Regions from separate parts of the Homo sapiens genome. Here all the other regions are linked to region 6. Evidence: promoter capture Hi-C in 16 types of primary human blood cells and fetal thymus (Javierre and others, 2016). All regions are on one chromosome and are shown on one strand. The core of a region is centred on a gene start or on the middle of the fragment in contact, and the rest is flanking DNA. Distances in the headings are between cores, read along the strand shown. Region 1 holds the start of LOC105371438 (a long non-coding RNA gene). Region 2 overlaps ARNT (aryl hydrocarbon receptor nuclear translocator). Region 3 overlaps MINDY1 (MINDY lysine 48 deubiquitinase 1). Region 4 overlaps SETDB1 (SET domain bifurcated histone lysine methyltransferase 1). Region 5 overlaps SETDB1 (SET domain bifurcated histone lysine methyltransferase 1). Region 6 holds the start of CA14 (carbonic anhydrase 14). Region 7 overlaps PIP5K1A (phosphatidylinositol-4-phosphate 5-kinase type 1 alpha).

Region 1 (3,026 bases), core at 199-2,698, 720 kb after region 6:
AAAACAAAACCTAGGGAGAGGAATGAGTTTGTAGCAGGTTTCAATGCAGCGATTGTGAACGCATCACACACACACTCCTCACAGGCAAGGACTTCGCTTCTGCCATGTGACTGAGACTCTGTTGGACTTCTCCAAATTCAGAGTTCAGCCTGGCATGCCGGCCAGGAGCCCCTTGGAGAGATTCGGCGTGAGGAAACAGGAGGCCTCACGCTTCCTTCGGTTCTCCCTAAATCTGCTGGGCAGGTAGCCAGAAGAAACTCTGAAGGGTACAGAAAGCCGAGGGCCAGGGGGACCCCGGCTGCGGAGCTGCAGTACCGTGTTTACCCAGCCTAACTGCGGTCACCCAGTCTCCTGCATGTGTCTGAGGTCAGCCTCGGGGGCTCCCCTGAGTAGGTATCTACCTGAGGCTCTTCCCCTGATGCTACCTGCATACCAATTCCACCCAGGAACCTGGCGTCCTCAGGAGGCTGCACTTCCCAAGTGGGCTGAGACAGCCCCTTAATATGTGGGGCTGGAGCCAGAGACCTCAAGGGGCCACTAGGGGGCTCGAGACTCTCAGTGGCTGCTGACGCCCTCTTGTGGCCATTTTGGGGATTGGCCAGAAAAGTTTCAGAAGCGAGCCAAGATCGGAATTCTTAAGGAGGTAAGTAATAACAACAGTAACAGTTACCATATAACAATACTTATCGTTATATATTTGATAACATTGTGACATTTCTACTTAACAGCGCTGTGCCCAGAACTCTTCTAAGTGCTTTATATGCACTGTAGTTATTTAATTCTCACAACAACCTATAACATAAACACTATTACTTGTCTGTTGATGATGAGGAAACTGAGCACAGAATAGTTGCCCAAGGTCACACAGAAGACCAGAATCCCGACTCTGAGAAGTCTGGCTCCAGAAGCTTTGCTTTTAGCCACCACGCTGAGACTGAGTTCCATTTTGGGGTTGTCAGGTGAAATACAGGACACACTGTTAAACTATAATTTCAGATAAACAAAAAATAATAATTACAGGCGGTGGCTCACGCCTGTAATCCCAGCACTTTGGGAGTCCAAGGCAGGTGGATCACGAGGTCAGGAGTTCGAGACCAGCCTGGCCAACATGGTGAAACCCTATCTCTACTAAGAATACAAAAAATTAGCCAGGCATGATGGCAGGCGCCTATAATCCCAGCTACTCGGGAGGCGGAGGCAGGAGAATCGCTTGAACCCGGGAGGTGGAGCTTGCAGTGAGCCAACATAATGCCACTGCACTCCAGCCTGGGCAACAGAGAGAGACTCCGCCTCAAAAAAAAAAATGTTAGTATATTTAATGAAATATTTGGGTCATACTTGTACCAACAAATGATTCCTCATTTACGTGAAATTCTGATTAAGCTGCATGTCCTGTATATTTATTTATTTAATCTAATACCCCTACTTTACAGGGCACTTTTCTCTGCCACATGCAATTACACAGATTACTTTTTTTTTTTTTTTTTTTTTTTGAGACGGAGTCTCACTCTGTCGCCCAGGCTGTGGAGTGCAGTGGCGCCATCTCAGCTCACTGCAACCTCTGCCTCCCAGGTTCAAGTGATTCTCCTGCCTCAGCCTCCCGAGTAGCTGGGATTACAGGCATGCGCCGCCATGCCCGGCTAATTTTTTGTATTTTTAGTAGAGACGGGGTTTCACTGTGTAAGCCAAGGCTGGTCTCGATCTCCTGCCTCATGATCCACCCGCCTCGGCCTCACAAAGTGCTGGGATTACAGGCATGAGCCACCGTGCCTGGCCACATTACCTTATTTATTTATTTATTTATTTATTTATTTTTATGAGTTCAATAGTTTTTGGGGACAAGGTGGTGTTTGGTTACATGGATAAGTTCTTTAGTGGACACATTACTTCATTTAATCATCCCAGGAAACCTGTCCTCGGAGGCCCCAGCATGTCCCACAGCCTCCGTCTCTCTCAATCCTCCCATTTAGAGAGCTGAAAGGACTAGCGAAGCTTACAGAACATAGGTGGCAGAGCTGGATATTGAACCCTCATTCTCCAGTTCTGACACAGGTGCATGTTTTCCTTTTAACAGGAGAGAAAAGTGAGGAGCAGTGATTACCGCCACAGAAATATCCTTTCATGGCGTGTCCTCCGGCATGGTCTACTCAGTGTGGTGGAGCCACTGCAGGTCCCTCCTCCAGGGATGTAGGAATGCCAGTGAAGGCCTTCCTGAGTTGGGAGAGAGGCAGAGGAGTGAGTGGAGGCAGGGCTGTAGCTTCTGTGCCCCGCCCCTACCCAGGCTCTCCAGGGAGGCAGGAAAGAGGCTGTGTTTAGACCTGAGGGAGCCAGCTGTGAGGCTGGAGCAGTTGCTGCATGGCGGGGCGGGGGCTCCACAGGGCTGTTCACCTGCTGCTCTGTGCAGAGACAGCCTCAAGTCCAGCTGCTGGGGTTGCATCACCTGCAGCTAAAACAGCCACAGGGCCCAGGCTGCCAAAAGGCAACAGAAGCAATCTAAGAAACCAGGCAAGGGAGCCTCCCCCATCTCCCTGTTGCCTTTTGGGAGCATAGAGCTTCCCTCTGAAGGTAACACCCTTTGCATTTTTCTCTCTTGACTCTGTTCATCAACTTCCACTCCCAAATACTTGTGCCCTTCCTTCTCCACAGATATACACAATCCCTGGGCACTCTCCACCTAGGTCAGCTGGCTCTAGTAAGGCAGCAGTCAAGGGAGTTTCTGGGCTGGGACCCCCTCTGGGGTGCAGGCTGGGGTGCCCTGCTGGTATGTGCCCCAACAGGTTTTTCCCTATCAGCCTTGAAATCAGCCTGCAGCCTGTCTGACCTGCCCCCCAGGGAGCTGGAGCCAGAGGCAGAGCCAGGTCAGAAGCTGGGGCAGAGCCAGGTCAGAAGCTGGACTTTGAGACTAGGTCTCTGTGGTCCCACCTGGACCCACAGGGAAGGCAGTGCATAAAAGCCTCCTGTGTTTGAGGCTGAGCCGCTGAGAGGCTGAGTGGAGTTCACTCACATGGATTGAGGCCCAGTTCCTG
Region 2 (3,106 bases), core at 56-2,555, 570 kb after region 6:
CAATAGTTATTCATGTCCCTTGGAAAAGAGAAAAACCAATGTTTTACACAGAAAGGGAAGAAGACTGCATTTCTCCCCTGTTTTTTGCATAGTTATACTCTTTTTATCCAGAAAAATAGTATTCCTTGATGCTACATAGAGGTATGAAAGATCACATACTTTAACTGTGTGGCTTATATAGTATATAGACTAAGTAGTTCAAATGTCATTACTACTTCAGTTAAATTTTTTTAAATTACATTAATTACTTTTATTGGGTTACCTGCCATATGCCAGGCACTGGGCTGGATGCTTTCCTTACATTAAATCTAATCCTCACAAAAACCCTATACAGGATGTACTAACTCTGAATTACAGATGAGAAAACTGAGCTTTATAAAGGTCAAGCAACTTACCCTAGGTGATGCCACTAATAAGTAACAATGACAGGAATCACATCCAGGTTTCTCCACATCCAAAGTTTAACCTTTTTCCAAAACACATCACCTTGCTTCTCTTTTCTCTTAGTTTCTGTCTCCCCAAAACCCCTACTTTCCAATAATACCCAGGCAGCAGGGAAGTAATAAAGTTGCTAAGATTTGGAAACTCTGACAAGCCAACTTAAAACTTTGATCCTGCAACCCAATCACCTTTCTCACATTCCTTGTTTGACCTCAAGTTCTGGTAAAGCTAATCTGCTCAAAGCTTGATTTAAAGTCTTTGCAGAGAATATCCTCTTGATAAGTTATTACAATAAAGGCATTTTCCCCTTTTCTCTCAAAGTCTTGTTCCTACTTTAGAAATCTTTCTCAAATTAACTGCATTCAATGTCTAAGTTTCTTTGCAACAAATGCTTAGAATACATATGTTCAGTATAAATTTGTTCACATAAAAACCACATTCTGTGACACAGCCAATACTGAATCATTTTCCAGCCTGAGTTATCTATCTCCTCAACTGGAATAAAAGCTCAATAATGGAAGGGAAGGATTGTACATTTTCTTTTCCTATTTTCTTTCATCTTACACAAAAGTACATTTCATATACCAGGTATATAATAAATATTAGCTTTCATGGACTCTGTGAGGAACCAACTGTACCAAGGGGAAATATTTACTATTTCACTTTCTTACCTGCTGGGGGCCAGGCCTTGATGTAGCCTGTGCAGTGGACCACCACGAAGTGAGGTTCCCCATCCTTTACAGAGCCAAGTCCATTCCTAGAAGAGTTACAGGAGTTTGAAAAAAAAAAAAAAAATCTACCCGTAAAACTCAAAGGGCAATGCTGCCTTAGTACTTTTAAGTTTATGCTCTTAGGAGTTTAGAAAACAGGATAATCATCTTTCCCACCCAAAAATGACCGCCACATTTTTACCCTTGCCAAAGTAAAGTAACCAAAAGGTATGCAGTAGGAGGAAAGTAGGTAAAATAGCATAGCGACTTCCTTAAACAGGATTTTCAAGAGAAGTTTTAGAAGTTTAGGAAAATATTGCCAGAAAAAAAGTAAGTGGGAGGTAAGGGATGTTAAGTGGGAGGTAAGGGATGCAAGTGAGAGCTGCTGAAGGAACGACTACAGTAAGACAGGTAAAAATGTGATGATCTCTGCAGGTATTTGGCCATCCCTTTGGTTTTCACCACTTAGGATCTCACCTGCATCTGTTCCTCACAAAGCTCAGCCTATTCACAGAAACTGGGTCCACAGAGCTACTGCCACACCTGTTTCAAGGAATAAAGAGATTAAAAGCAATCAGACTGCCCTATCAAAGAACTTTCCACAGTAATAGCAGAATAACATGCTCTGGATACAACCAGACATAGAAAATTGGTAATGCTACTAATAATGAAGGATAAAGATAGGTCAAGTTTAGTATTTCTAAAACTTTTAGAATTTGAAGTCAAAATGTTCCATATGTTCTTCATATGCAAACATTCTCAACATCAAGAGTTGGCAAGCTTTTTCTGTAAAGGACCAGATAGTACATATTTTCAGCTTTGCGGGCCAGAAAGTCTGTTGCAACTAGTCAACTCTAGCATTATAGCATGAAAATAGCCATAGATAATATGTAAAAATATGGGCATGGCTATGTTCCAATAAAACTTTATTTACAAATAAAGGGCTGTGGTTTGCTTACTCCTGCTCTACATTAACCACAACTTAATGTAATTGCTACAGTTCATTATTATCTTGCTCTTGCCTATGTCTTTGCATTAGCCATGTCCACATATTGGGATACTCCTGCCAATGCTACTTTCCCTCTCCCTATCCTTTAAAACAAAAATAAAACTTACATAGGGTTAATATGTGTCATGCTCTGTTCTAAATATCTTTACATATATTAATTCATCTAATCTTCATAACAACTTTATAAAGTCAGTATTAACATTATCGCCAATGTGAGATGATGAAATCAAAGCACAATGTAGTCATGTAATCATCCAAGGTTTCAGAAGATAGCATCAAAGCTAGAATTCAAATCCATAGAATATGGATTAAAACAAAATCCAGCAGTCTGGGTCTAGAAGCTACTCTAAATTACACGCTGGGTGCAGTGGTTCAGGCCTGTAATCTCAGCACTTTGGGAGGCTGACGCAGGCGAATCACTTGAGGTCAAGAGTTTGAGGCCAGCCTGGCCAACATGGTGAAACACTGTTTTACTAAAAATACAAAAATTAGCCAGCTGTGGTGGCAATCCAGCTACTCAGGAAACTGAGGCATGAGAATCGCTTGAACCCAGGAGGTAGAGGTTGTAATGACCCAAGATCATGCCACTGCACTCCAGCCTGGGCAACAGAGCAAGACTCTGTCTCAAAAAAATAAATAAATAAAAATAAAAATAAATCACTAAACCACATAATGTTCAATTTTGTGCCTCTCCAAGCAAACCTTTAATATCCTACCCATAATTTCTAGCAACTATCCTCTCAGTACAATGTAGTCAATTTCCATTATATAGCCTGAACTTTGTGACCCTGAGATGCCTTTTGTACCTGTATAGAAAGGACCACCATATTTTCTACAGAATCCTAAAACGTACAGTATATAATTTATAAACACTAAACACCTACTGAAAGACATAGGAAGTCTCAAATTTCTAACCAAAAAAAAAAAGAAGAAATGGTCTGAGTAA
Region 3 (3,102 bases), core at 26-2,525, 740 kb after region 6:
CCAGTCCACAGTGGACACGCACCAGGAGCGGGAAATGAACCTTTGTTGTGGTAAACCACAGGGATTTGAGGGGTCACTTGCTACCACGGCTTAATCTAGCTGATCCCAGCTGGACCCACGAGAAAAAGGCACCAGGAAATGACAGCACCGCAGCACGCCACCCCCAAACTCGCATTACCTTATGCTTAGTCATGGTGCTAAAGTGGTTGTTTCGGAAAAAGACGCTAAGTTCACCCTCCTTAGCAGCTGCTGTCAGCTCACACAGTCCGTGGTAGGTCAGCTGGGCCGCGGTGGTCTCCAGGAACTGCTCTGCAATCAGGCCTGCCAGAAAGGGACGAGTCGGGGGAAACTTGGCTTAAATTCAAGGTCCACAACAGGAAGGACCATCCAGAGAGCCCCTGTCAAAAGCCCCGGGGGGTCAGTCCCACCTTCTGACGTCCCTTTCTTGAAACCTGGCTGTATTCATTCACTTAACAAATACTTATAATAGAGCAGCTACCTTGTGCCAGGCACTGGGGATACCTCAATGAACTAAACAGAAATTCCCCAAGCTCCTTCTTGTGAAGCTTATATCTAGTGGGATGTGGTAGGAGATGACACCCAATAAAAAATAAGCCTAAGTAGCTGTCATTCCCTCCACATACTATCCATGAGAAGGGGAGGAATGTCACCTTCTGTCACGAGGTTGGTGTCACTGGAGTGTTTGCAGGTGATGATCCTCTCCACCAGCTGGTTGTAACTCAGTTTCCCAACTGCACGCACAGCCTCAGGACTCTGCTTGGGTAGTGGGATGTGGGATACCAAAAAAATTGGGATTTTTTTTTCTTTTTTAAGGAAGGAAATGAACAAAGCTCACAAGGACTACAACCCTGTGATGAATGGTTCCTAAACACTTTTTTTTTTTGGTCTCTCAAAAAAGAAAAAAATTTCAGGAACCATTCATCATAGGGTTGCTATGTTGCCCAGACTGGCCTCGAACTCCTCCCAAGTAGCTGGGAATACAGGCATGTGCCACCAAACCCATCTGCTTCCTGAATTTTTGATGTCTAAAGAACTGACCTATTTGCATGTAGTTTGCTTGTATTTGCATGTTACCCCCAAAATAGATTAAAATTCAAGGAATTCTGTACTGGGTCCAGTCTCTAAACACTATTTCCCTCCCAAGCCAATCTAACCCCTAACTCCCTAACCTCTACCCGACAAAAATTTGCCTCTCTCATGTCAGCTTGAGCTGGATAAGGTCCCAGTGGGCCCTCCCACCCTCACCTGTGGATCAACAAGCCAGCCATGGTACAGAGGTATGCCTAGCAGGTCAAAGACACTGCACTCGGGTGTATACTCAAAATCAGAGACGCCTGTGAATCGCACATTGACATCCAGACCTGTGGCCAGTTTAGGCAGCACTGTCATTGCATCATCCACATTCTGGGGGTAGAAAAAAAAATGATGGAGATTCTAGCCTTCTCTCCCACCACTCCACTCCCACCTGCAGAAATTAAAAATTAACCTTGCTGCTCTTCTTCCCTGATTCTCTTACAAGCCACTCCATTTCTCCCTTGCCTCAACCCTTCTCTATCTTATATAAATGAACATTGTTTTTCTTTGAGAGTCTAAGTCTAATTCTTTCATCCAGGCTGGAGTGCAGTGGTGTGATCCTAGCTCACTGCAGCCTCAAACTCTTGGTTTCAAGTGACCCTCCCACCTCAGCCTCCTGAGTAGCTGGGACTACAGGCACGCACCGCCATACCTGGCTAATTCTTGAAAAAAAAAATGGTTTTTTTTAGAGACAGGGGTATTATTATGTTGCCCAGGCTGGCCTCGAACTCCTGGCCTCAAGTGATCCTCCCGCTTTGGCATCTCAAAGTGCTGGGATTACAGGTGTGAGCACCCGGCCAATGAACATATTTTCTAGGACAAAGATAAACTCTCCTCTGACTCCTGCAGAATGAAATCATGGTTCAAGGAAACCTCTGAAGAAGCAACAAAAGCTTATCTTAGTATTACAAGATGTCCCCTTACAAACCTGCAAACCCCTATGCCTGCAGACCTTTTGCCTCACCTGCTGAAAATTAAGCTGAAGTCCCTCTGACTTCTCCTGGGGCTTGATGGACAGGAGGCAGTTTCCTACAAGACAGGGCCCCTTATCAGCTTACCCCACCAATCATCCCAAAAGCTAAGTTTCCTCTTCTCCTGGAGAATGCGGGTAATGTCACAGAACACAGATTTTCAGAGCTGGAAAATACTTAGAGTCTAATCCAGACTCTTCATTTCTCAGAGGAGGCGACAGCCTCATAAAGGTGAACGGCCCACCCAGGGTCAGATACAAAAGCTAAGGGCAGAATTGGTGTTACAACCCAGGACTCCCGACGCCTTTGCTTTTCATTCTCCAGCCTTGCAGAGAAGCCCCATAGACCCTTACCCTCCCTGCTGTATCAGAACCCCCAAATGGAGATCCCTGAATAGTCTGGATTTCTGGCTGAGTGGATAGCTCTGGAGCCCCTTGGGTAATTCCTCTTCAACGCCCAGTCACTCACCAAGATGGGCCATGAGCTCATCCGATGTGATCACTTCCTTCTGCGGGGGGAGCTTCACCTGGAGGCAGAAGGGGTGATCACGTGTGTGCTTTCCTCCAAAGAGCACTGAAGGAAGAACCCATGGAAAGGCAAGGGGGAGCTCCAGTAGTAGGGTGGGGTAGGAAAAAAGGCTTGCAACTGGCACAAGGGAATGAATGTGAAATCTTGCAAGGCATGTGCATTTGCTAGGGAGTAGGAGATACAGGGGTAGGACAGATCTTCCTCTTTTTTTTTTTTCTTTGTTTTTAGGAACATCTTATCTCATTTGCTCAAGCTGGAGAAATAGGGAGAACAATCTGAAAAGTTTTGACTAGTTTGAGGACATCAGGATGATCAAGGAAGTAAGTCAGGGAAGAGTACTCCCTGATATTTTTTGCACCCCTAACTGCATGTTCTCTTACCTTCCACTGAAGAAAGAGGATGTTCATGATGGCAAGGAGAGGGCAAGGGCCGTTAGTGCTCTGGGTGATGATGGGTGTCTGTTCTCCTTTCCAAGGGATCCACTTGACACAGTAGAAATCTGGCTCAG
Region 4 (2,727 bases), core at 143-2,642, 690 kb after region 6:
CCTGTAGCCTTAGCTACTCTGGAGGCTGAGGCAGGAGGATTGCTTGAAGCCCAGGATTTCAAGGTTACAATGAGCTAAGGTCACACCGCTGCACTTCAGCCTGAGTAACAAAGTGGAACACTGTCTATAAAAAGAAAAAAAAGAGGCTACTCTGCCGACAGAGTAGCAATTTTTTTTTTTTTTTTTTGAGATGGAGTCTGGTTCTTTTGCCCAGGCTGGAGTGCAGTGGCACCATCTCAGCTCACTGCAACCTCCGCCTCCCGGGTTCCAGCAATTCTCCTGCCTCAGCCTTCCGAGTAACTGGGGTTACAGGCGACTGCTACCATGCCAGGCTAATTTTTGTATTGTTAGTAGAGACGGGATTTCTCCATGTTGGCCAGGCTGGTCTTGAACTCCTGACCTCAGGTGATCTGCCCGCCTCAGCCTCCCAAAGTGCTGGGATTAAAGGCATGAGCCACCGCGCCTGGCCGTTATTCTTTTATTCCTTTACTTTGTGAATAAACTTGCTTTCACTTTAATAAAAGAAAAAGTATTATCTAAGTCAAAAAACAATGTATGCCAGCGTCCATGCCAGTCAATAATGGGAACTGAGAGTCTAAGCACTTACTCAAAATGTGTCCATTGCTGCTTTTTTTTTTTGAGACGAAGTCTTGTTCTGTTGCCCAGGCTGGAGTACAGTGATGTGATCTCGGCTCACTGCAACCTCCACCTCCTGGTTTCAAGTGATTGTCCTGCGCCTTCCGAGCAGCTGGAATTACAGATGTGCACCACCATGCCCATCTAATTTTTGTATTTTTAGTAGAGACGGGGTTTCACCATGTTGGCCAGGCTGGTCTCAAACTCATGACCTCAAGCAACCTGCCCACTTCGGCCTCCCAAACTGCTGGGATTACAGGCAAGAGCCACTGCGCCCAGCCATTGCTTCCTTTTTATATTGTATAAGTTAAGGATCAGATGTGTGACTGAATACAAGCGTCATAGCTATCATCTTCTCAGTGCTCAATTTCCTTTTTCCTATAGGTGCTGTGAGGAGCAAAGGCCCTGTTGTCCAGTACACACAGGATCTGACCGGTACTGGAACCCAGTTCAAGCCAGTGGAACCCCCACAGCCTACAGCTCCACCTGCCCCACCTTTCCCACCTGCTCCACCTCTATCCCCCCAAGCAGGTGACAGTGAGTGAGTGTTATTCTTTCTTTTTCTTCAGTTTCTTTCATATTATATTTTCCACATCCCTTACTATATGCCCTCTTCTCTAATCTCCTAGAAGCTTGGAAAGCCAGCTTGCCCAGTCACGGAAGCAGGTAGCCAAAAAGAGCACGTCCTTTCGACCAGGATCTGTGGGCTCTGGTCATTCCTCCCCTACATCTCCTGCACTCAGTGAAAATGTCTCTGGTGGGAAACCTGGGATCAACCAGACATATAGGTGAGAAAATCTGAGGCTCTCTGTAGGCAGGATAGCAATGAGTGGTCACTGTGTAGGGGAAGGTTCCTTGGCTGTAAGCGAAGGGCTTAGTTTAAGCTTATGATAGTGAGGAGTTTGGACTTGAAAAGGAAGCTTTACCCATAGAAGTTCCTAAGAAATAGAAAGTAAGAATAATTGAATTGGAAGCTGGGTGCTTGGAAATATGGTATCATCTGAAAGCCATTTGTTAAAACTTCTTGTTGAACATGGTGCCATCATTGCTAAAATAGAAAGGAAACACCACAGCCTCTTTCCTTGGAGTTAGTAAGGACATTTTTAGAACACGCAGCAGACCAAAAAAACATTGGTAGAAGACTGGATTCTACTTCCATAATTCACAGGCAAATACATTTTAGGAAAAGGTATACTGTTGAAATAGAGATGTTAGGCCGGGCGCGGTGGCTCATGCCTGTAATCCCAGCACTTTGGGAGGCCGAGGCGGGTGGATCACCTGAGGTCGGGAGTTCGAGACCAGCCTGGCCAACATGGAGAAACCCTGTCTCTACTAAAAAATACAAAATTAGCCAGGCGTGGTGGCGCATGCCTGTAATCCCAGCTACTCAGGACGCTGAGGCAGGAGAATCGCTTGAACCCAGGAGGCAGAGGTTGTGGTGAGCCAAGATCGTGCCATTGTACTCCAGCCTAGGCAAAAAGAGCGAAACTTGTCTCAAAAAAAAAAAGAGAAATAGAGATGTTATCAGTCAGTGAAGAGTAACCAGGGAGTTTCATTGTCCAGGTTTGGTAGGGCAAGGGAAGATCTTTCTTGAATCATCTTTAGCTTCAGGAGCACAGCTGTTTGAAAGATGAGAGAAATGGCTTAGCTACCTGGAGGGTTAATTATAAAACAGAGGTCCTGTTGCCTTCCGATCTGATCACTTGCATCTCATTTGCAGATCACCTTTAGGCTCCACAGCCTCTGCCCCAGCACCCTCAGCACTCCCGGCCCCTCCAGCACCCCCAGTCTTCCATGGCATGCTGGAGCGGGCCCCAGCAGAGCCCTCCTACCGTGCTCCCATGGAGAAGCTTTTCTACTTACCTCATGTCTGCAGCTATACCTGTCTGTCTCGAGTCAGACCTATGAGGAATGAGCAGTACCGGGGCAAGAACCCTCTGCTGGTCCCGTTACTATATGACTTCCGGCGGATGACAGCCCGGCGTCGAGTTAACCGCAAGATGGGCTTTCATGTTATCTATAAGACACCTTGTGGTCTCTGCCTTCGGACAATGCAGGAGATAGAACGCTACCTTTTCGAGACTGGCTGTG
Region 5 (3,069 bases), core at 570-3,069, 670 kb after region 6:
TTTTGCTGCAAGCTTTCGTGTGTTTGAATATCATAGACTTTTTAAAAAGTAAAATTCCACATGGAAGCAAAGTAATATAAGGGGAACAAGTAATGAAAGAGAAAACACTGAGTTAGTGAGTTCCAAATCAACTCCATCCCCAGGTGGGGTTTTGTTTAAATTAGGCATAGCATACAAAGATTTATCACATTAGTTAAGGAACACATATAGACCACAAAAATATCTTATAGATTGGTTCTCTTCAGTATCCCAAAAGATTATTTTTAAAGTTCGGTTTGTTTTGAGACAGGGTCTCACTTTGTCACCCAAGCTGGAATGCATGGCGCGAACATAGCTCACTACAGCAGCTACTCCTGGGCTCAAGCGATCCTCCCACTTCAGCCTCCTGAGTAGCTGGAACTAAAGGCGTGCACCACCACACGTGGCTAATTTTTGTATTTTTTTGTAAAGACGAGTCTTGCCATGTTGCCCAGGCTGGTCTTGAACTCCTGCCCTCAAGCGACCCTCCTGCCTCGGCCTCTAAAAGTGCTGAGATTACAGGTGTAAGCCACTGTGCCAGCCCAAAACATTATTTTCAGTAGCTCTCTACTGCTTAATGAATGTTCTCCATGCCGTCTCAAACTCTTAAATCTTTTTCAGGAGTGTTAGCGTACAGCAGAAGATAAGAACTCTTAAAAATCTCAGCATCAGATTCTGGAGAATAGGGAGGGAGAACATGGAATATTTGAATAGAATAACAGGCAGCAGAGTAGGAATTAGTTTTATTAGGGAACTGAAATTCTCTATTGATTGATTGTAGTTATAAGGACTCCAATTTAATTTGTTTTCTGTTCCATGCAGAGGACAAAAGCATGTCTTCCCTTCCTGGGTGCATTGGTTTGGATGCAGCAACAGCTACAGTGGAGTCTGAAGAGATTGCAGAGCTGCAACAGGCAGTGGTTGAGGAACTGGGTATCTCTATGGAGGAACTTCGGCATTTCATCGATGAGGAACTGGAGAAGATGGATTGTGTACAGCAACGCAAGAAGCAGCTAGCAGAGTTAGAGACATGGGTAATACAGAAAGAATCTGAGGTGGCTCACGTTGACCAACTCTTTGATGATGCATCCAGGTGAGAACTCCATGGAAAATAGAAGGAAATCTCTCCATTGGGAGATGTTTTTAGAGAATAATTGTTCATGACATTGAACCAAGCATTTTATTTTATGTTTTGAGACGGAGTCTCGCTCTGTCACCCAAGCTAGAGTGCAGTGGAGTGATCCTGGCTCACTGCAACCTCCACCTCTCGGGTTCAAGTGATTCTCCCACCTCCCCCTCCCGAGTAGCTGGAATTATAGGCATCCGCCACCACACCCAGCTAATTTTTTATATTTTTAGTAGAGACAGGGTTTCACCATGTTGGCCAGGCTGTGTACCAAACATTTTATACTTTATGAAGTACAGATGTTTAGAACCTTACTCTTCCTCAAAGTTTATGGTCAAAAATCTGACCTTACAATCAGCCGTAAATATAATTTTCATCTGTCAGCAGCTAATACATGATCAGCAGTAAGGGAGTCCAAGTCTTAAGTCCTTTCCCCTTCTTCCTCCTGTGCTCTATCTTAGAACAATTGCTTCATTTCCCTAGTAAGATCATCCAGGGAGTGAGGATTGTAAAGAATTTCTGTCTTACGTAACTCTGAAGCATTAGTAAGTTCCCATACCCCCAAAAGATTTGTTTCTGGTGCTCTAGTTGTCACTTAGAATACATTGTTTTTAAATTTATTATACTTTAAGTTCTAGGGTATATGTGCACAACGTGCAGGTTTATTACATATGTATACATGTGCCATGTTGGTGTCACTTACATTAGGTATATCTCCTAATACTATCCCTCCCCCTTCCCCCCACCCCACGACAGGCCCCAGTATGTGACGTTCCCCATCCTGTGTCCAGGTGTTCTCATTGTTCAATTCCCACCTATGAATGAGAACGTGCGGTGTTTGGTTTTCTGTCCTTGCTATAGTTTGCTCAGAATGATGGTTTCCAGCTTCATCCATGTGCCTACAAAGGACATGAACTCATCCTTTTTTATGGCTGCATAGTATTCCATGGTGTATATGTGCCACATTTCTTAATCCAGTCTATCATTGATGGACATTTGGGTTGGTTTAAAGTCTTTGCTATTGTGGATAGTGCCGCAATAAACATACGTGTGCATGTGTCTTTATAGCAGCATGATTTATAATCCTTTGGGTATATACCCAGTAATGGGATTGCTGGGTCAAATGGTATTTCTAGTTCTAGATCCTTGAGGAATCGCCACACTGTCTTCCACAATGGTTGAACAAGTTTACAGTCCCACCAACAGTGTAAAAGTGTTCCTGTTTCTCTACATCCTCTCCAGCACCTGTTGTTTCCTGACTTTTTAATGATCGCCATTCTAACTGGTGTGAGACGGTATCTCATGGTGGTTTTGATTTGCATTTCTCTGATGGCCACTGATAATGAGCATTTTTTTATTTTATTTTTATTTTATTTTATTTTTTTTTTAGACAGAGACTTGCTCTGTCTCACCCAGGCTGGAGTACAGTGACGTGATCTCGGCTCACTGCAGCCTCCGCCTCCCGAGTTCAAGCAGCTCTCCTGTCTCAGCCTCCGGAGTAGCTGGGACGACAAGCGTGTGCCACCACACCCGGCTAATTTTTGTATTTTTAGTAGAGATGGAGTTTTACCATGTCGGCCAGGCTGGGGAGGTCAAATTCCTGACCTCAAGTGATCTACCTGCCTCAGCCTCCCAAATTGCTGGGATTGCAGGTGTGAGCCACCACTGCCAGCCAGGATACATTTTCAGATAACAGCAAGGTAAATAATGAGGTAAGGGTGAAAGTACTGTACTTTGGGCTTACTTTGGATTTTTGAGGAACTAGTCTGGAAACTAAACCACTATTTAAAACATTTTTCTATAGAAAAAGCATTCTAAATTCTAAACAGAGACACTTTGGAATGTGGCCCATTTAAATTGAGGACTGTCTATACTTAAATATATATACATCGTAATGGATTCTATATCTCTTAATTCCTCTACTG
Region 6 (2,721 bases), core at 162-2,661:
ACTCAGAGGGTGATAGGAGAAGAAAAAGGGAAATGACATCAGCAAAATGGCTTGGCTTTGCAGATCAATCACAGGGGATAGAAAGGCACAGTGAGCTCCTGTCTCTGCAGGAGCTGATGATCCAGCACATGCATTATTCTGTTCATTTGGCTTTTATCCTGCTCCCTTATTTAGCTTCTGCTCCCTTTGTTTGGCTATTTATTGCTACTCGGCAGGAGCAAGGAGGGCAGAGGGAGCTTCAGATGGGTGCATCCTCCTGGCTGGTGCCTCTGGTGAAGAGCATGGAGGAGAAAGAGGTTTCAATGTCTGGCTTGAAAGTATCTGTGGGTTTCACATTCTCTAACGAGGGATTTAGGATGTACATTCCAATCGGGATTTCCAGTCCCGTGGGGAGCAAACATCAGTTCACATTCCTGAGACGTGCAGCCTCCATGCTCCACGGACGCAGCTCCTTGGTGGCAGGTTTCATTCAGTGCCACATGTCCTGCCTCAGCCCTTTGTTGGGCTGGAAGGAAGACCCTGAGCCCCTCTTCCATCTGGATCACATGGTCTCTCCAGACCCTCCCCTCTCTTTCTCTGGAAACCACCTTTTTCTGATGGTGGTAGTGATTGTTCCTAAAGTCTCTCCTTTCCTCCTGCCCTGGCCTCTCTGCCGGAGGTCAGTGTCCTCTTCAGTGACAAAAGCCGCCCTAGATCTGGGCTCCCTGGAGAGGGAGGTGGCTGGGTCTGGCAGTTACAGCCGCTGTCTCTCCATGGTGCTGCTACACCCCTCCCCCACTGGGCATACAAATGGGCTTTATCCAGCAAACAACGCTCCCTCCCCGCACTCCCCCCACCCCAGGCCACACAGGCACGTGGACCCAGGCCTCACCGTGGGAAGGGGGTGGTGGCAGGCACAGAAGAGATTGCTCCAGATGAGTTCTCCTTGCCTCACTTCTCTTCCTTAGAACTTAGGACACAACTCAGGTTTTAGTTATTGACTTCCTCCACCCCTCCCCTGCACCCTGAGTCCCTAATTCCTTCTTGTTATATATCTCCTAATTCTGGACTCTTCCCATTCCAGGGCAGCTCAGATTATGCAGGGAATTGGGAACAGGTACCCCCACCATCTGCCGCATACCACCCAGGGAGCTGCTCCTCAGAGGAGAAATCAGGCGGGGGGATGAAAATACAGTGTCCTTTTGAGGGGGCTGAGTTGAACCCCAAAGCCCCTTCCTTGACCCTGCCTGCTCCAGGGAACACCCATCTAAACAGCATCTGTGTGACTAGCAGAGGAAGGAAGAGCTCACCCCAGCTGGGCTCCTGAGCCAGGGCCAGGGCTCCAGTGAAACTTGCCGCGCTCCAGCTCCGAGTGGGGCCATCCTGCATGCCTAATTGGCTATTTAAGGAGCTGTTCACCAGCAGCCCAGGCAGCACCCCCGTCCCCACATACACCAGTTCAGAGCCACCTTAAAAGCAGGAGGCAGTTGTAAAGTCGCTGGCCAGCTAGTGGAGTGGAGACTGCAGAGGGAGATAAAGAGAGAGGGCAAAGAGGCAGCAAGAGATTTGTCCTGGGGATCCAGAAACCCATGATACCCTACTGAACACCGAATCCCCTGGAAGCCCACAGAGACAGAGACAGCAAGAGAAGCAGAGATAAATACACTCACGCCAGGAGCTCGCTCGCTCTCTCTCTCTCTCTCTCACTCCTCCCTCCCTCTCTCTCTGCCTGTCCTAGTCCTCTAGTCCTCAAATTCCCAGTCCCCTGCACCCCTTCCTGGGACACTATGTTGTTCTCCGCCCTCCTGCTGGAGGTGATTTGGATCCTGGCTGCAGATGGGGGTAGGTACAACTAAATGTCTGTGTGTGGATTTGTGCTGATGTTCACATGTCGCCAGGTGTGCTTAATGGGGGGAGGAGAGGTGTGAAAGGAAGCCTAGAGGCTGGAATAATAGGCTCAGAGATGAGGAAAAAAGAGTGGGGTGTGGAGGAGACCACTTCCCTTCTTTACCTTTTGTCTCTCCAGCCTTGTTGTTATTGGAGGTCGGGGAGAACTAGCGGCAGGCAGGCAGAGTGTGTACACATGCAAGTGCTGGAATCTCTTTGCAGGCTACAGATTTTCTCCAGAGCTCTTTCCCCCACTGCCCTGGTCCCAGGCAGGACTCCTGGACTTCTTTATTTACAAACTCCTCCAAATAGGGAGTCAAAGAGGCCTGGAGTAAAAAGATGGATAGATGGGGGTAGGGGGAAGAATACTTCCTGCCCAACTCAGACCCTGATCTCCAATTCATCCCCTTTTGGCCAAGATTCCCTCTTCATTCTGTGGAGCGACTAACTCCCCAGTTATCCTCTGAAAGTGGCAGTAAGAGTCAACATTTGTTTGACATTTTACAGTTTACAAAGGACTTTCAGGAGCTCCCAGGAGATGAGGAGGGATTCTTGGGAGAACAGGCTGAAGCGCTCCAGGAGTGTCCCCAGGAACTCCTAGACCTCATTTTTGTGTTTCCTGTGCCTAGCACAGTGTCCAGCACATACTAGGTGTGTAACTGAGGTTTGTGGAAAGAGCAGGGTGAGGTGGGTGTCCAGAGAGCAGAAGGCAAATGCAGAGAGGATGGGGGCAGGCAGGCAGCCAAATGGAGAGTCACAAATCTCATCTGAGGAGAAAGAAAAAAAGAGGGAAAGAGGAGGAAGAGACAGAATAAGTGTGTTGAGGCTCTGACCAGAGTGGACAGGCACCTTTAC
Region 7 (2,986 bases), core at 302-2,801, 990 kb after region 6:
AAAAAAAAAAAAAGGAATTATGCAATAGGGTACATTTCATCTGATGGAAGTAAAGCAGTCATCAAGGCTCCATGTTGGGGGGTTAGGTGTGGATATGTTTCCTTTCTTCTAGGTTTTCATGCCTCTTGGAAAGTGAAGTGAGCTAACACCTTGTTCTCTGAATAGTAATTCATAGGCCTGTCTTTGTTGACATTAGCCTTTTCACTTTTCAGACCAACTTTGGGTGTGTGTTGGGGATACTAGCAATTATTTGTATCTATGTCTTGGTAATAGTTGCTAAGGTAGTTGCTAAGTAGGCTCTCTCTTTCCCTTTTGAAGTGAAGCCTTCTCCTTCCAAAAAGTTTCGGTCTGGCTCATCTTTCTCTCGGCGAGCAGGCTCCAGTGGCAACTCCTGCATTACTTACCAGCCATCGGTCTCTGGGGAACACAAGGCACAAGTGACAACAAAGGCAGAAGTGGAGCCAGGTCAGCGCTAGGGCTGGGGTCCCCATGTGATTGGGTACTCCCTCCCTTCCTTCTGAGCCTTTATCTTGTCTGGCCAGGACCTCTGCTCCCATTTCTATCCAGGAAGCCTAGCTGCTACATATTTTTCCTTGTATTTACTGTACCCCATCTTCTCTATCTTTTTTCCAGGCGTTCACCTTGGTCGTCCTGATGTTTTACCTCAGACTCCACCTTTGGAGGAAATCAGTGAGGGCTCGCCTATTCCTGACCCCAGTTTCTCACCTCTAGTTGGAGAGACTTTGCAAATGCTAACTACAAGGTTGGTTTATTGGCCCCTTTCTCCATATAATCTTATCTCTCTTTTCAAGTCCTTGGAAACCTCTATAATTTGATTGCATCATAATAAATTACCCCAAAGATTAGTGGCTTAAAATAACAAACATATATCATACTTTCTGTGGGTCAGGAATCCAGGCCCAGCTTAGCTGGGTCCTCTGGCTCAAGATTTCTCATGAGGTGGCATTTAAGCTGTTGGCCAGGGCTGGGGTCTCATCTGAAGGCTCAAACAGGAAGATCTGCTTTTAAGCTTATTTATGTGGTTACTGGTAGGATTCTGTTCCTTGTGGGTTGCTGAACTGAGGGCCTTAGTTCCTTGCTGGCTGTTGTCTGGGGGCTTCCCTCAGTTCTTTGCTACATGGACTTCTCCATAGGACAGCTCAGAACATGGCACCTGGGCTATCTGACAAGTGAACAAGAGAGCATGTGCCTATGCAGAAACCATGGCCTCTTATAACTTAATCTCAGAATTGACATTCTACTTGTGCTACATTCTGTTCACTAAATGCAGCCCACACTCAAGAGGAAGGAATTACCCATGGGTGTGAATACCAGGAGGTGCAGGGATCATTGTGAGCCATCTTAGAAACTGCCTGTCATAGTCTGCTCTCTGGTCTCCAGTAATTTACATACCTCCATGTCGAAAATACACTGACCCCCTCCCAGGGTCTCATCCCATTGTAGCGTTAGCTCAGAGTCCAGAGTTTTATTACCTAAATTAGGTCCGGTTGGATGAGCCCCCCAGGTATAGTTCCTTAAGCACAGCTCCTCAAGTACAGTTCTTCTCAATCTGTGAACTTGTGGAACCAAAGAGACAAGTTATCCTTTCCCCATGTACCTAGCATACAATGGTGAGACAGGCATTAGATAACCAATATACACATTTCTGTACATAAAAGGGGAGAATGGGAGGCACAAAAAGGAGTCATTGATTTTATTTGCTGTTCCAAAATCCAGGAAATGTTGGAGTTTCTTTTATCAGGCCTCAAAGCAGAAGAATAATTCTCCGTGGTTCTTGGCTCTACCCTCTAGACTCTTGGTTTTGTCTTCTGAGTCTTCCTTTTTCATCAAAGCTAGAGTGTGTTTTTACCTGAGTTCTTTTCTCAGGCTGCTTCTTTCCAGTAGAATTTTAGGGGAACTAGTGGTCTCTATTTTGTACTGTTTCTGTCCTTTTTGATCCAAGATGGCAGTGTTTCTACTGATACAGAAGATTTTGTGGGCCTCCTGTGATTCTCCTTGGGATTTACTCCATTAGACAAAAGCCACACTCATAAATATCTTCTTTATGAGACCTAAGCTTCTTACAGACTCTGTTTTTCGGTTGAAAGGATCTGTGAAACATAATCTTCTGAACAGCCTTTTGTATGACTGAATAGCACAATCAGCCCTCCGTATCCACAGGTTCCACATCCCAGATTCAACCAACTGTGGACTGAAAATACTTGAGAGCCTGGTGTGGTGGCTCATGCCTGTAATCCCACCACTTTGGGAGGCTGAGGTGGGAGGATTGCTTGAGGCAGTTTGAGACCAGCCTGGTCAATATAACGAGACCCCATCCCTTTGAAAAAAAAAAAGAAAGAAACGAAAAAATACTGAAAAAAAAAAAAAAAGTCGTGAAAATGTTATGTTGTTGCTGATATGTACTGTACAGTTAGGCCTGTACTTAACATGTACAGACTTTTCTTGTCATTATTCCCTGAACAATATAGTATAACAACTATTTACATAGCATTTACATTGTATTAGTTATCATAAATAATCTAGGAATGATTTAAAGTATATGGAGGGCCAGGCGTGATGGCTCACGCCTGTAATCCCAACACTTGTGAGAGGTAGAGGCGGCCAGATTACTTGAGCCTAGGAGTTTAAGATCAGCCTGAGCAACATGGCGAAACCCCATCTCTACCAAAAATACAAAAAAATTAGCCAGGCGTGGTGGTATGTTCCTGTAGTCCAAGTTACTCAGGAGGCTGAGGCAGGAGGATCGCTCGAACCCCGGAGGCAGTGGTTGCAGTGAGCCGAAATCGCGCCACTGGACTCTAGCCTGGGTGACAGAGCGAGACCCTGTCTCAAAAGAAAAATAAATAAAAATAAAGTATATGGAGGATGTGTGTGAGTTATATGCAAATACCATAGCATTGTATATAAGGGACTTGTGCATTGTGGATTTTGATATTCAAGGAGGGGTCCTGGAACCAGTCCCCCA

The links. The method cuts DNA at HindIII sites, captures the fragments that hold promoters and counts their contacts. A CHiCAGO score of 5 or more calls a contact.
Region 1: a contact is called between a fragment that was not itself captured here and the fragment with the promoter of CA14 in region 6, in 5 of 17 cell types (fetal thymus, endothelial precursors, naive CD8 T cells and 2 more). The highest score is 8.6, in fetal thymus.
Region 2: a fragment that was not itself captured here is called in contact with the fragment with the promoter of CA14 in region 6 in 1 of 17 cell types (erythroblasts); the score reaches 5.7 in erythroblasts.
Region 3: a fragment that was not itself captured here is called in contact with the fragment with the promoter of CA14 in region 6 in 9 of 17 cell types (fetal thymus, total CD8 T cells, total B cells and 6 more); the score reaches 11.9 in fetal thymus.
Region 4: a contact is called between a fragment that was not itself captured here and the fragment with the promoter of CA14 in region 6, in 1 of 17 cell types (naive CD8 T cells). The highest score is 5.3, in naive CD8 T cells.
Region 5: a contact is called between a fragment that was not itself captured here and the fragment with the promoter of CA14 in region 6, in 1 of 17 cell types (fetal thymus). The highest score is 6.3, in fetal thymus.
Region 7: a fragment that was not itself captured here is called in contact with the fragment with the promoter of CA14 in region 6 in 1 of 17 cell types (neutrophils); the score reaches 5.6 in neutrophils.

The regions. Positions count from the first base shown.
Region 1 is chr1:150,979,103-150,982,128 of GRCh38, forward strand. It overlaps LOC105371438 (a long non-coding RNA gene), which reads right to left and starts at 2,403. Exons shown (of 3, transcript XR_922135.3): 1 at 2,319-2,403; 2 at 2,102-2,211; 3 at 856-984. It also overlaps a transcript of ANXA9 not described here. The HindIII fragment of the contact is 1,084 bases long and covers 907-1,990 here.
Region 2 is chr1:150,830,706-150,833,811 of GRCh38, forward strand. ARNT (aryl hydrocarbon receptor nuclear translocator) reads right to left here. Exons shown (of 22, transcript NM_001668.4): 9 at 1,629-1,694; 10 at 1,113-1,198. Among named protein-coding and RNA genes, the nearest start is that of CTSK, 24 kb to the left of the region's middle. The HindIII fragment of the contact is 1,247 bases long and covers 683-1,929 here.
Region 3 is chr1:150,999,191-151,002,292 of GRCh38, forward strand. MINDY1 (MINDY lysine 48 deubiquitinase 1) reads right to left here. Exons shown (of 10, transcript NM_001376665.1): 2 at 2,975-3,102; 3 at 2,535-2,592; 4 at 2,060-2,124; 5 at 1,267-1,425; 6 at 672-774; 7 at 179-321. Among named protein-coding and RNA genes, the nearest start is that of MINDY1, 6.2 kb to the right of the region's middle. The HindIII fragment of the contact is 1,422 bases long and covers 565-1,986 here.
Region 4 is chr1:150,948,102-150,950,828 of GRCh38, forward strand. It overlaps SETDB1 (SET domain bifurcated histone lysine methyltransferase 1), which reads left to right. Exons shown (of 22, transcript NM_001366418.1): 11 at 1,021-1,177; 12 at 1,266-1,424; 13 at 2,357-2,727. Among named protein-coding and RNA genes, the nearest start is that of SETDB1, 23 kb to the left of the region's middle. RefSeq lists an enhancer at 1,863-2,007 and a cis regulatory region at 1,935. The HindIII fragment of the contact is 252 bases long and covers 1,267-1,518 here.
Region 5 is chr1:150,926,864-150,929,932 of GRCh38, forward strand. SETDB1 (SET domain bifurcated histone lysine methyltransferase 1) reads left to right here. Exons shown (of 22, transcript NM_001366418.1): 2 at 841-1,111. The coding sequence starts at 852. Among named protein-coding and RNA genes, the nearest start is that of SETDB1, 2.0 kb to the left of the region's middle. The HindIII fragment of the contact is 3,618 bases long and covers 11-3,069 here.
Region 6 is chr1:150,256,363-150,259,083 of GRCh38, forward strand. CA14 (carbonic anhydrase 14) reads left to right here and starts at 1,412. Exons shown (of 11, transcript NM_012113.3): 1 at 1,412-1,821. The coding sequence starts at 1,767. RefSeq lists an enhancer at 1-296. The HindIII fragment of the contact is 8,593 bases long and covers 1-2,721 here.
Region 7 is chr1:151,241,805-151,244,790 of GRCh38, forward strand. PIP5K1A (phosphatidylinositol-4-phosphate 5-kinase type 1 alpha) reads left to right here. Exons shown (of 16, transcript NM_001135638.2): 13 at 319-465; 14 at 634-763. Among named protein-coding and RNA genes, the nearest start is that of PSMD4, 11 kb to the right of the region's middle. The HindIII fragment of the contact is 1,047 bases long and covers 1,029-2,075 here.